Linked DNA regions of Homo sapiens: region 1 is linked to region 2. The links are contacts of gene promoters, found by promoter capture Hi-C in blood cells and fetal thymus (Javierre and others, 2016). All regions are on one chromosome and are shown on one strand. Each heading gives the region's core, a stretch centred on a gene start or on the middle of the fragment in contact. The rest is flanking DNA. Distances are from core to core; before and after follow the strand shown.

Region 1 (5,094 bases), core at 110-2,609, 7.0 Mb after region 2:
GTTAAAATAGTAAATGTTATGTGTACTTTACCACAATTTTTTTAAAGGCTACTGCTGCCAGGCACTGTTGATTTTTTCCACTCACTCTTCACAACTACCTTTTGAGGCAGGTTAAAATTCTCATCTTTTTTAAAGAGGAGGAAATGCAGGTTATGAGCAATTAGGTGTCTTCCACTTTAGCTTCCAAGATGTGATGATCACAGACATGGCTTCTGAATTCTAGAGCCAGAATTTGAAGATAGGCAGTCTATCTCCAGAAAAAACAAAACAAGACAGGCTCTCTACTACATTAGAGCTTACATTCTTGTAGGGACAGATATAAACAACCATGTAAGAGATTAAAAGCTTTCATATCACAGTGACAGATGCAAAATACCTTTGAAAGCAGGTACACAGCTGAAAACACAGTAACCTTTAGTAAACATAGCTATTAGAACCTTCCCTGCTCTGATTGGAAAGGGCGCAGAACACGGTAATGATCCTTTGAGAACCCCAAGAAAGGGCAATAATGTGGAAAGAGAAACTGGGGGTGAAATTTTGCTGCAGTTTATCTCCAGCTGGATTTGATTGAATACTACCAGAGCGAGTATTTGAAGGATTTGTATTTGGCTATATGAGAATATCTGTAATCAGAAATGGCTTATAAAGGGATTTTCATCAAGGAATGTAGTTTTGTAACAAGTTCAAATTCCTGCTGGAAATTTGTTAAATACCACTGGTTCTTTGCATCATGTTTCCAGCAAATCCCTATGTATATTGCCTCATCCTGTGGAGTGGCATAATTCAAATTAAACTGGGAGAATAGGGGTAAAAAGAGAACAAGATATTTTGAGGCTGGAGACAACTTTCTGACTTTAAGTGTTTCACTTCCTCTTTACCTGCTTCTATTGCACAGGGCAAATAGCTTACAGTATATATCTAATGAAGAGGATTAAATAAATTAATACTTTAAACCCTTAAAATGATGCTTGAGGTCAGGTGGGGTGGCTCACGCCTGTGATCTCAGCACTCTGGGAGGCCAAGGCAGGTGGATCACGAGGTCAGGAGTTCGAGACCAGCCTAGCCAACATGATGAAACCCCATCTCTACTAAAAACACATAAAATTAGCCGGGCATGGAGGCGTGCAACTGTAATCCCAGCTACTCAAGAGGCTGAGGCAGGAGAATCGCCTGAACGCAGGAGGCAGAGGTTGCAGTGACCCAAGATCACGCCATTGCACTCCAGCCTGGGCAACAGAGCAAGACTCCGTCTTGAAAAAAATAAAAATAAAAAAGGATGCTTGACACGTAACAGGTGCTCAGTAAATGTTGGCTATTATTTAGTGACACATTATTTAATAATTGAGTCAGTTTCCTCATCTGTAAAATGAAAATAACATTGTAATTTCTTTGCAGAGTCTCTGAGATAATAAAGTACACTGAATATCAAGCATTTGATCTTTGCTATGATTATTCACACCGCCATGATGCAACTCACTGTCTCCAAGGAGGTCCAAATAGCCCTATTAAGACTGTATTGGTCAGGTGCAGTGGCTTACGCCTATAATCCCAGCACTTTGGGAGGCTGAGGTGGGCGGATCATTTGAGGTGAGGAGTTCGAGACCAGCCTGGCCAACATGGTGAAACCCCATCTCTACTAAATATACAAAAATTAGCCAGGCGTGGTGGTGTGCACCTGTAGCCTCAGCTACTGGGGAGGCTGAGGCGGGAGAATCGCTTGAACCCGGGGGGTGGAGATTGCAGTGAGCCAAGATGGTGCCACTGCACTCCAGCCTGGGTGACAGAGTGAGACTGTCTCAAAAGAAAAAAAAAAAAAGACTGTATTATGACTTTCCTGAGACCTAGGCACTTTTGCCTTCAAGGGCCCCTTCGTCTAAGTTATTAAAAATAATATTTTATGACTGCATTGGTATAAAACGAACATAATACAGGCTGGATTCGTTATCATATTCATAAACATTATGGTTTTTTTAAAAAAGAAATTTAAATTAAAAGACTTTCGTAGACCCCTAAAACTATCATGGGTTCAGGCAGGAGAATCGCTTGAACCCAGGAGGCGGAGGTTGCAGTGAGCCAAGATCGCGCCACTGCACTCCAGCCTGGGCAACAGAGTGAGACTCTGTCTCAAAAAACAAACAAACAAAACAAAACAAAACAAAAACCTCTCTTCCTCCCCAGTTCATCTGCATCTCATTATTGGGCGGCACGGTACTTACTGTGCCTAAAGAATAAGTTGGCCCTGAGCCTCTTTACCTGTCTACATATTACCTGTCTTCATATTCCTTAGCATAGGTGGGCTTCTCGGCAAGATGACTTTGCATCTGTGGGACTAGAACCTAGCCTTTGGGCAGGTGGAACGCAACAATAAGCTTGTGCCCTAGAGATACAGATCTCAGCTCTATACCTTTCTAGACTCAGCTTCATCCGCAAATTAGCATTAATTGGGATGGTGAATAACAACGTTTTAGAAATGCTAATAATGTAAACACGATCTATCTGGCTACTTCAGGAAAACCCCTCATATAGCTCGTGCTCCGTCTCTCCTGTCAAGCCCCAAGCCCACAACTTGTCCCGGCTCCCTCCGGATCCCACCAAGGTCACCCTGGAAGCGTCCTCCCTTTTCTCGCCCCGCACCCGCTTCACGCCCGTTCTCCCTAGGCCAGCACCCACCAGCAGCCTTCGGAAAGCCACGAGTGAGGAAGCCCCCAAATCCGAGGCGAGTGCCAAGGGGCCGGCCAGACAGAGCTGCCACCGCAGTAACCGAAACCCGCCGCAACAAACTCATGGCCGCCATGGCTACTACGGGCAGGAGGAAGAAGGGAGGCGGGTCACGGAAGCTGAGAGAGCCAATTTACCAATGAGGACAAAGGCAGGATGTGGCCATCTTAAGTGAGGGCAAGTTTTCTATTCTCCTCACCGCCGGCTTGAGACGCCGGAAGTGACGCTATCGTTGGCGGAAACGCGTTTTGCCAGTTATGCGAAAACATGGCTGCGGCCGGTTTGGCCCTTCTTTGTAGGAGAGTTTCATCCGCCCTGAAATCTTCCCGATCGTTAATAACTCCTCAGGTCCCTGCCTGCACAGGGTAAGTGATGTATAAAGTAGGTTTGCCCACCTCTCCAACTTTGGATCTTGTTTGGTTGCCGAGATGCCGAGATGCCGAGAACAACTCAAGAATGGAACGGCCGCCTGGATGGCAGAGCCGGAGCCCACTTTGGTGAGGAGTGAGTGACCTTGGAGAAGTCGCTCACCTCCGACATTTCTATTCCTTCCTCATTTTGTTGCTGCCTGCTGTGGACAAGACAGTATATGGGGTTTGTAGATGTCCAGCATTTGTTGAAGTAAATACATCTATAAGTACAGAAGCATCCTCTTGGGCTGGGTGAGGTGCGAAAAACTTTACCGAAGATGTTTTTGTTGTGATACTCAAGTCTGTGTCAAGTTTGGATGGATTAAAAAAGAAGAGATATTTGTATTTACAGGATGTGTTACAATGAAAGTAACTGGTAACTTAGTAACTTCTTTTATTTATTTATTTTTCTTGGTCCTGGATCCAGTGAAGTATCCATTTATTACATTGGTTGCCATGACTCTTTAGTCTCTATCCGGAACAATTTCTTTTTTTTTTTTTTCTTAATGTTGTTGACATTTTGATGAGATTAGCTTTTTAAGAATCTTATTCATTTGGATTTGTCTGATTGTTTCCTCATTATAAGATTTAGGCTAAATATTTTTGGTAGGGATACAACACTTGTGATAAACTTCATTATTTAGTTTCAAATCATCTCAGGTCGTTAACTATTTTTTAAAAACAGGATTTTTGAATTACTGCATAATAATTTATCATCCAGATGCACAGTAATTTTTAAACCATTCTTAGCTGCGTATTTACATAATTAAAAACTTGACATCCTATATAGTGCTTTAATAAACATCTTAATTTATAAATTCCCATCTATAATAATTTTTTCAGTTGAAACTTCTAGATGCAGAATTACTGAATTAAAGGAGGAAGTATTTGAGGCTCCTGATACATGTTGCAAAATTGTGAGGTTTTTTTGTTTTTGTTTTTTGAGACAGGGACTGACTCTGTCGCCCAGGCTGGAGTGCAATGGTGTGATCTCAGCTCACTGAAACCTCTGCCTCCCAGGCTCAAAGCGTCCTCCCACCTCAGCCTCCCGAGTAGTTGGGACTATAAGGCACGTGCTACTATGCCTGGCTAATTTTTGTATTTTTGTTAAAGATGAGGTTTTGCCATCTTGCCCAGGCTGGTCTTGAGCTCCTGGGCTCAAAGTGATCCTCCCACCTCGGCCTTCCAAATTTCTGGGATAACAGGTGTGAGCCACCGTGCCCAGCCCACATGTTGCAAAATTGACTGCTCTTTTTACCTGCGCTTGCACCCATTAGCAATGTAAGAAGGACCCAAAAATGTTACCTTAAAATATAATTGTGTAACTATGTTACCTCTGAAATTATAAGGTAGCAGCTTCTATAATGCAGTATTAACAATACTTTCTAAAGCATTTTCAAAATTTATTGTGGCCAAGCATGGTGGCTCATCCCTGTAATTCCAGCACTTTGGGAGGCCAAGGTGGGAGGATCACTTGAGCCCAGGAGTTCGAGACCAGCCTGGACAACATAGTGAGACCCAGTCTCTAAATAAGAAAAAAAAATTAATTCTTGTGCAGAAACCCTGAGTAGCTTTTTAAAATGTTATCGATGACAAAATGATTATGTTTATTATGATAATGTTTATTGCTTATAAAATCCAGATATTATAAAACTTTTACTTGTTTATGTGTGTTCAATTGCAGGTTTTTTCTTAGTTTGTTGCCTAAGAGTACACCAAATGTGACATCCTTTCACCAATATAGATTACTTCATACCACATTGTCAAGGAAAGGACTAGAAGAATTTTTTGATGACCCAAAAAACTGGGGGCAAGAAAAAGTAAAATCTGGTGAGATACTTGGATTTGTCAACATTAGATATATTTATGGAACCCCCCCCCCCGCCCCGCCCAACCATCGTTCTAGGATTATATATCCAGTTTAGGAATTATTTAGATGTTTCCTTTTTCAGTTTTCTTTGAGACT
Region 2 (5,151 bases), core at 1,663-4,162:
GGGTGGATCATGAGGTCAGGAGATCGAGACCATCCTGGGTAACACAGTGAAACCCTGTCTCTACTAAAAATACAAAAAATTAGCTGGGCATGGTGGTGCACAGCTGTAGTCCCAGCTACTCAGGAGGCTGAGGCAGGAGAATGGCGTAAAACCCAGGAGGCGGAGCTTGCAGTGAGCCGAGATCGTGCCACTCTACTCCAGCTTGGCAGACAGAGCGAGACTCTGTCTCAAAAAAAAATAAAAAAGAATTTCTGCCCCATAGGATCCCTGAAGGTGTTGAAAGATGAAAGGACCCCAACAGCTCTTGGGTTCACCTGGGTATAACTCACTGTTTCAATTCCATTGCTTCTTTAATCTAGAGATCTTGGGATTCCTTCCTTTCAAGGTTTGTGTCTTCCTAAAATATTTTTCAATTTGTTTTTAGCCTTCTCAATATACAAGAATTTAAACTTAAATTCAGGAGTTTTAGCTCTATGACTTTTAGTTCAATTAATTTTTTTCTGTGTCCATTTAGAAAATGAGAATAAAAATATGCCTAGCTCTAATATATTTCCTGGTGTCCTAGTGAAGATTAAATGAGATGATACACATGAGAGTGTTTTGATCCCCAGATTAGAGGTTGCAAAATCAAATTAAAACTGTGCTCTGTTTGATTTATGTAAAAAAGAAATTTAACTGAATTAGTTACCAACACTTTTACAAGCAGAACTCATATAAAAAATCTAGATTTTCAACTTTTCTTGAAAAATTAAATCATCCAGGAACATACTGTTTGCATTTGTATGACAAAAACTGGCTGGGGTTGAGTAACAGCTGCTCCCTTGAAATGGGGCCAGAAGGCTTCAGTTTGTCAAAGTCCTCAACAATCCTTATTGCTTCCCAATATGGAGGCAGAATATCTGCTGCCATGTTTTAACTTATACCTGCCCTGCATGTTATTTGTCTAGTTCATATGAACATGCAGGTTTGCAACTCTCATGAAGGCTTTCTTTTTATTTTTGGTTCTAGCTCCCAAACTGATTGAACGACAGACCAATCAGTTGATCTACTTATTAATCTATAATAAGTTCAAGACTAGCCTGGCCAACAGGGTGAAACCCTGTCTCTACTAAAAATACAAAAATTAGCCAGGTGTGGTGGCATGCACCTGTAATCCCAGCTACTTGGGAGGCTGAGGCGGGAGAACTGCTTGAACCCAGGAGGTGGACGTTGCAGTGAGCGGAGATTGCACCACTGCACTCCAGCCTAGGCAATAGAGACTCAGTCTCAAAATAAATAAATAAATAAATAAATGTGAGCTGAAAGGAGTGTTTCTCTGTATTGTATGTTTTTTCTAGAGCTACAGATTTTATTCGTACTTTATCACTTTTCCCAACTCACCTCATAAGCAGCACCCAGATCCTGGAATTTCTCCTGGGCTTGTGGATCATCAGGGTTCCGGTCGGGATGAAGCTGCAGGGCTAGTTTCCTATAGGCCTTTTTAATATCCTTTATAGAGGCACTTCGAGGCACCCCCAAGATCTTATAGAAATCTCGTCTGGGAAGTAGAGGGAGAGAATACTTCATTAAAGAGTTACATGTTACATTTTTCAAAGTAAAAGATTTATTTTTCCTCTACATTTAGGTTTGTATCTGAGCAAAGAGGTATAAAAATGAAGGTTTATGTGACACATACACACACAAAGAATGACTAAAGAGAGAACACCAGAATTTGTAATGAATCTTATATATTGAAGTAATCACAGTAAGAGGCTATATACTTCTTTTCGGATTATTCAAAACATCTGTGGCACTTTTCTTTCAGAACCACCTTCGGTCAAGAAAACCACTTCCTTATTTTATGGTCTCATGTTATCTTTAGGCAATAACCATATAATCAAATTAACTCTTCCCCCCTTTCCCTATACTGGCTCCAAATGATTTTGACTTTTCTAAAAGTCAAATAACACTCTCAAAGGATGATTTTCCTTCTTTAAAAAGATTATGCCACATAAATGTCCTAACAGTAGCACTGCCAGAATGTTAAAGATGAAGCAACTTAAGATAATAAATAGCTCAAGAAGCTGGGAAGTACAAGGGCTGTCTAAAGATCTTCTTGTTCCCATCCCGCATCCAATTTCGTTCAGTCCCAACTCGGGCTGGCATCATCCACCCACTTTAATGTCAGCCCCAGAATGGCTCTTCGAAGGCTTGGCATAGAGCATCGTCCGCTTCTCCACCTCAGCGGGGCACAGCAACTCACCTCTTTGATCAAACAAACGTCCATCCCCTCAACCTCAGCCTGGCACTGTCACTATCTTTCCTTACAGTCAGGCATCCCTCTTTCTTCCCCAGCTCTACGTGACACTGCTTCAGCTCGCAACCACCTTCTTTCCCTCATCCCCCAAATGCCGTTTGGCAATGCATCCAACTCCCACTCCTCTGGGCAAATCTAGCTCTACCTAAGACCCTCTCTGGACCTAAGGCCCTCTCACTGGTGTCACCCACGGTTCTCCTCTCACCCCACTAGCCTGGCCCATACTACCCCTTCCTCCGCCACCCCGCCAACCCACAGCGATGCCCCTCTCCACTCCGTCAGTCTGGCAATGCCACTTCCCCCACCCCCTCCCACCCCCCAGCAAAGGCTGACCCACAGGCCCCGTTGTCTGCGAGTGTCTGTTCCTCACCCGGCAATCACCGCCCCGATGAGGTATAGCAGCAACAGGCAAAAGGTGCTCAGGTTCTGCGGAGCCATGGTTCCTCTGTCCCGGGTCCTGTTCCACACACTCCTCACAGCCTCCTCCGCCGCCGCGTCGGCTCGCCAGCCCACCCGGCCCTGTGAGGCCGCCTCACACCGGGGGGGCGCGGGGGTCTCCTTGGTCCGCAGAGACAGCTAGCTAGCCCCCTCTTCTGCCGGTCCACTTCCCGGGAGTCCCGAGTCCCGGTGAGAGAAGCCCCCGGTAGGCGAGAGCCAATCGTTGCCCGGGACATCACACGCGGCCGGCGCCTGGAAGCCAATCAGCGCAGTACACTTCACCTCCGAGGCGGCACGGGCAACCAGTTAGGCTTCAGAACTGCAGTCGCAGCTCTTGACCAATTAGAAGCGGAGACGTCAGAGGGTCGCGCCGCTGCAGGAACCCGCTCTGCCTGAGCTACCGCGAGTCGTAGAAAATTACGTAATGATAGGGGGCCGGTCAGAGTGAGGGCACCTGAGGTACACGAAATCCCTCCGGCTTGCCCACTTCCTCGGACTTTCCACCAATCAGGAGCTTCCTCCCCAGCACCAACCAATTGTGGGAGAGAAGTTTTCTCTGTGCTACAAGCCCGGAATTTCATTCATACCCAGCTACGCTCCGAATGAGGGAGCAGAGGTACAGCGGCCGAATGAGCGGGAACAGTTATTCCACGACAGGTGTACATCAGACGCATTGCTTAGGCCTCTTATTTTACGTTCTCCAAGCAACTCCATAAGACAACTGTCTCGGAAAGGCTACAGTGATGACAGACCGACTTAAGTTCGGATTCGGCTTCCACCGCTTCTTAGTGGTGAGACCCCCCACCCCTCCCCTCCTCCCAAGTCTGAGCCTAAGTTTATCAACAAAACTGAGGCAAAGCACTTATTGGCAGTTCTGTGAATTTTAACAGGGAAAAAAATCGGTAAATCATCGGGCGTATAGTAAGCAGGCAACGAGTAAAAACCATTATTACGGTTCAAGCAGAACTCTTTGATTCCCCATCTTCCCCCCGATTTTGCTCATCGCAGTTACACAACACCTAGTTGATCAGGACAAAGCTCTAGGTGTTTTTATTCCTTTCATGCATAAGCTATCCAACTCTTTACCTCTGAACTATACTTCAATCTGTTCACTACATCTCCATTACCAGGATTCTGGGTCACAGTGTATCTCTCACCTGGCCAGGGCCTCCTAACTGGCCTCCTTGCCCCCACTCTTAATATCTTCCTTAATATCTTAATATATGTTGCTCATCCCTGTCCCTCACTCCATGATTTAAAAAAAAAAAAAAAAAGCCCGGGCGCGGTGGCTCACCCACCCAAAGTGTAATCAGCACTTTGCGAGGCCGAGACGGGCGGAGCACCTGAGGTCAGGAGCTTGAGACCAGGCTGGCCAACATGATGAAACCCTGTCTCTACTAAAACTACAAAAATTAGCCAGGTGTGGTGGCGAGCGCCTGTAACCCCAGCTGCTCGGGAGCCTGAGGCAGGAGAATTGCTTGAACCTGGGAGGTGGAGGTTGCAGTGAGCCGAGTTCCTGCCACTGCACTCCAGCCTGGGCGACAGAGTGACACACCGTTTCAAAATAAATAAATAAATAAATAAATAAAAAATAAAAGTCAAATCATGTCACTCCCCTGTTTAAAAGCCTGGAATGGCTCTTCATTTGCACTTAGAATAAAATCCCAACTCCATGCTAGTTTACAAAGCCGTTTATGCTTTGTAAACCTATTATACTCCTAACCATGCTCCAGCAAAACTTGCTTCCTTTCTTTTTTTTGTATACACCGAGCTCATTCCTGCCGAGGGCCTTTGTGCTAGCTATTGCCTTTGCCTGAAACACTGTACTCTCCCTCATGTGCTAGCATGGGTGATTCCTTCTTTAACTCATATATCAGCTTAAAGGTCGCCACCTCAGGGAGGACTTTCCCTGACCAATTAATCAAAATTAGCCCCTACTGAGTTCCTTACTCTTACACCACCCTGTTTTCTTTTCTTTATTTCTTTTTTTTTCCTGAGACAGAGTCTCGCTCTGTCGCCCAGGCTGGAGAGCAGTAGCGTGATCTTGGCTCACTGCAACCTCCGCCTCCTGGGTTCAAGCGATTCTCCTGCCTCAGCCTCCCGAGTAGCTGGGACTACAGGCGCACACCACCATGTCCGTCTAATTTTTTTGTATTTTTAGTAGAGACTGGGTTTAACCATGTTGGCCAGGCTGGTCTCGAACTCCTGACCTCAAGTGATCCACCCGCCTCAGCCTCCCAAACTGCTGGGATTATAGGCATGAGCCACCACGCCCGGCCTCCTATTTTTTTCATCCCTGGTCCCTAGACTTACACACTGAAATGCCAGTTTCATGAGAGCATGAATCTATATTGTTCTGTTCACAGCTGTATAAAAGAGCACCTTAGAACAGTGCCTGGCATGGAGTAGGTGCTGAA

The links. Contacts are between HindIII fragments. The CHiCAGO score rates a contact against its expected background, and 5 or more counts as called.
Region 1: a contact is called between a fragment that was not itself captured here and the fragment with the promoter of DNAJB11 in region 2, in 1 of 17 cell types (non-activated CD4 T cells). The highest score is 6.6, in non-activated CD4 T cells.

Annotation. Positions count from the first base shown.
Region 1 is chr3:179,602,516-179,607,609 of GRCh38, reverse strand. It overlaps NDUFB5 (NADH:ubiquinone oxidoreductase subunit B5), which reads right to left and starts at 2,816. Exons shown (of 6, transcript NM_002492.4): 1 at 2,671-2,816. The coding sequence starts at 2,794. It overlaps MRPL47 (mitochondrial ribosomal protein L47), which reads left to right and starts at 2,972. Exons shown (of 7, transcript NM_020409.3): 1 at 2,972-3,083; 2 at 4,813-4,958. The coding sequence starts at 2,986. RefSeq lists enhancers at 2,231-2,320, 2,351-2,510, 1,949-2,815, 2,691-2,890, 2,816-3,682. The HindIII fragment of the contact is 2,024 bases long and covers 348-2,371 here.
Region 2 is chr3:186,568,481-186,573,631 of GRCh38, reverse strand. DNAJB11 (DnaJ heat shock protein family (Hsp40) member B11) reads right to left here and starts at 2,912. Exons shown (of 10, transcript NM_016306.6): 1 at 2,667-2,912; 2 at 1,381-1,537. The coding sequence starts at 2,734. It also overlaps a transcript of TBCCD1 not described here. RefSeq lists a silencer at 2,661-2,900. The HindIII fragment of the contact is 6,099 bases long and covers 1-5,151 here.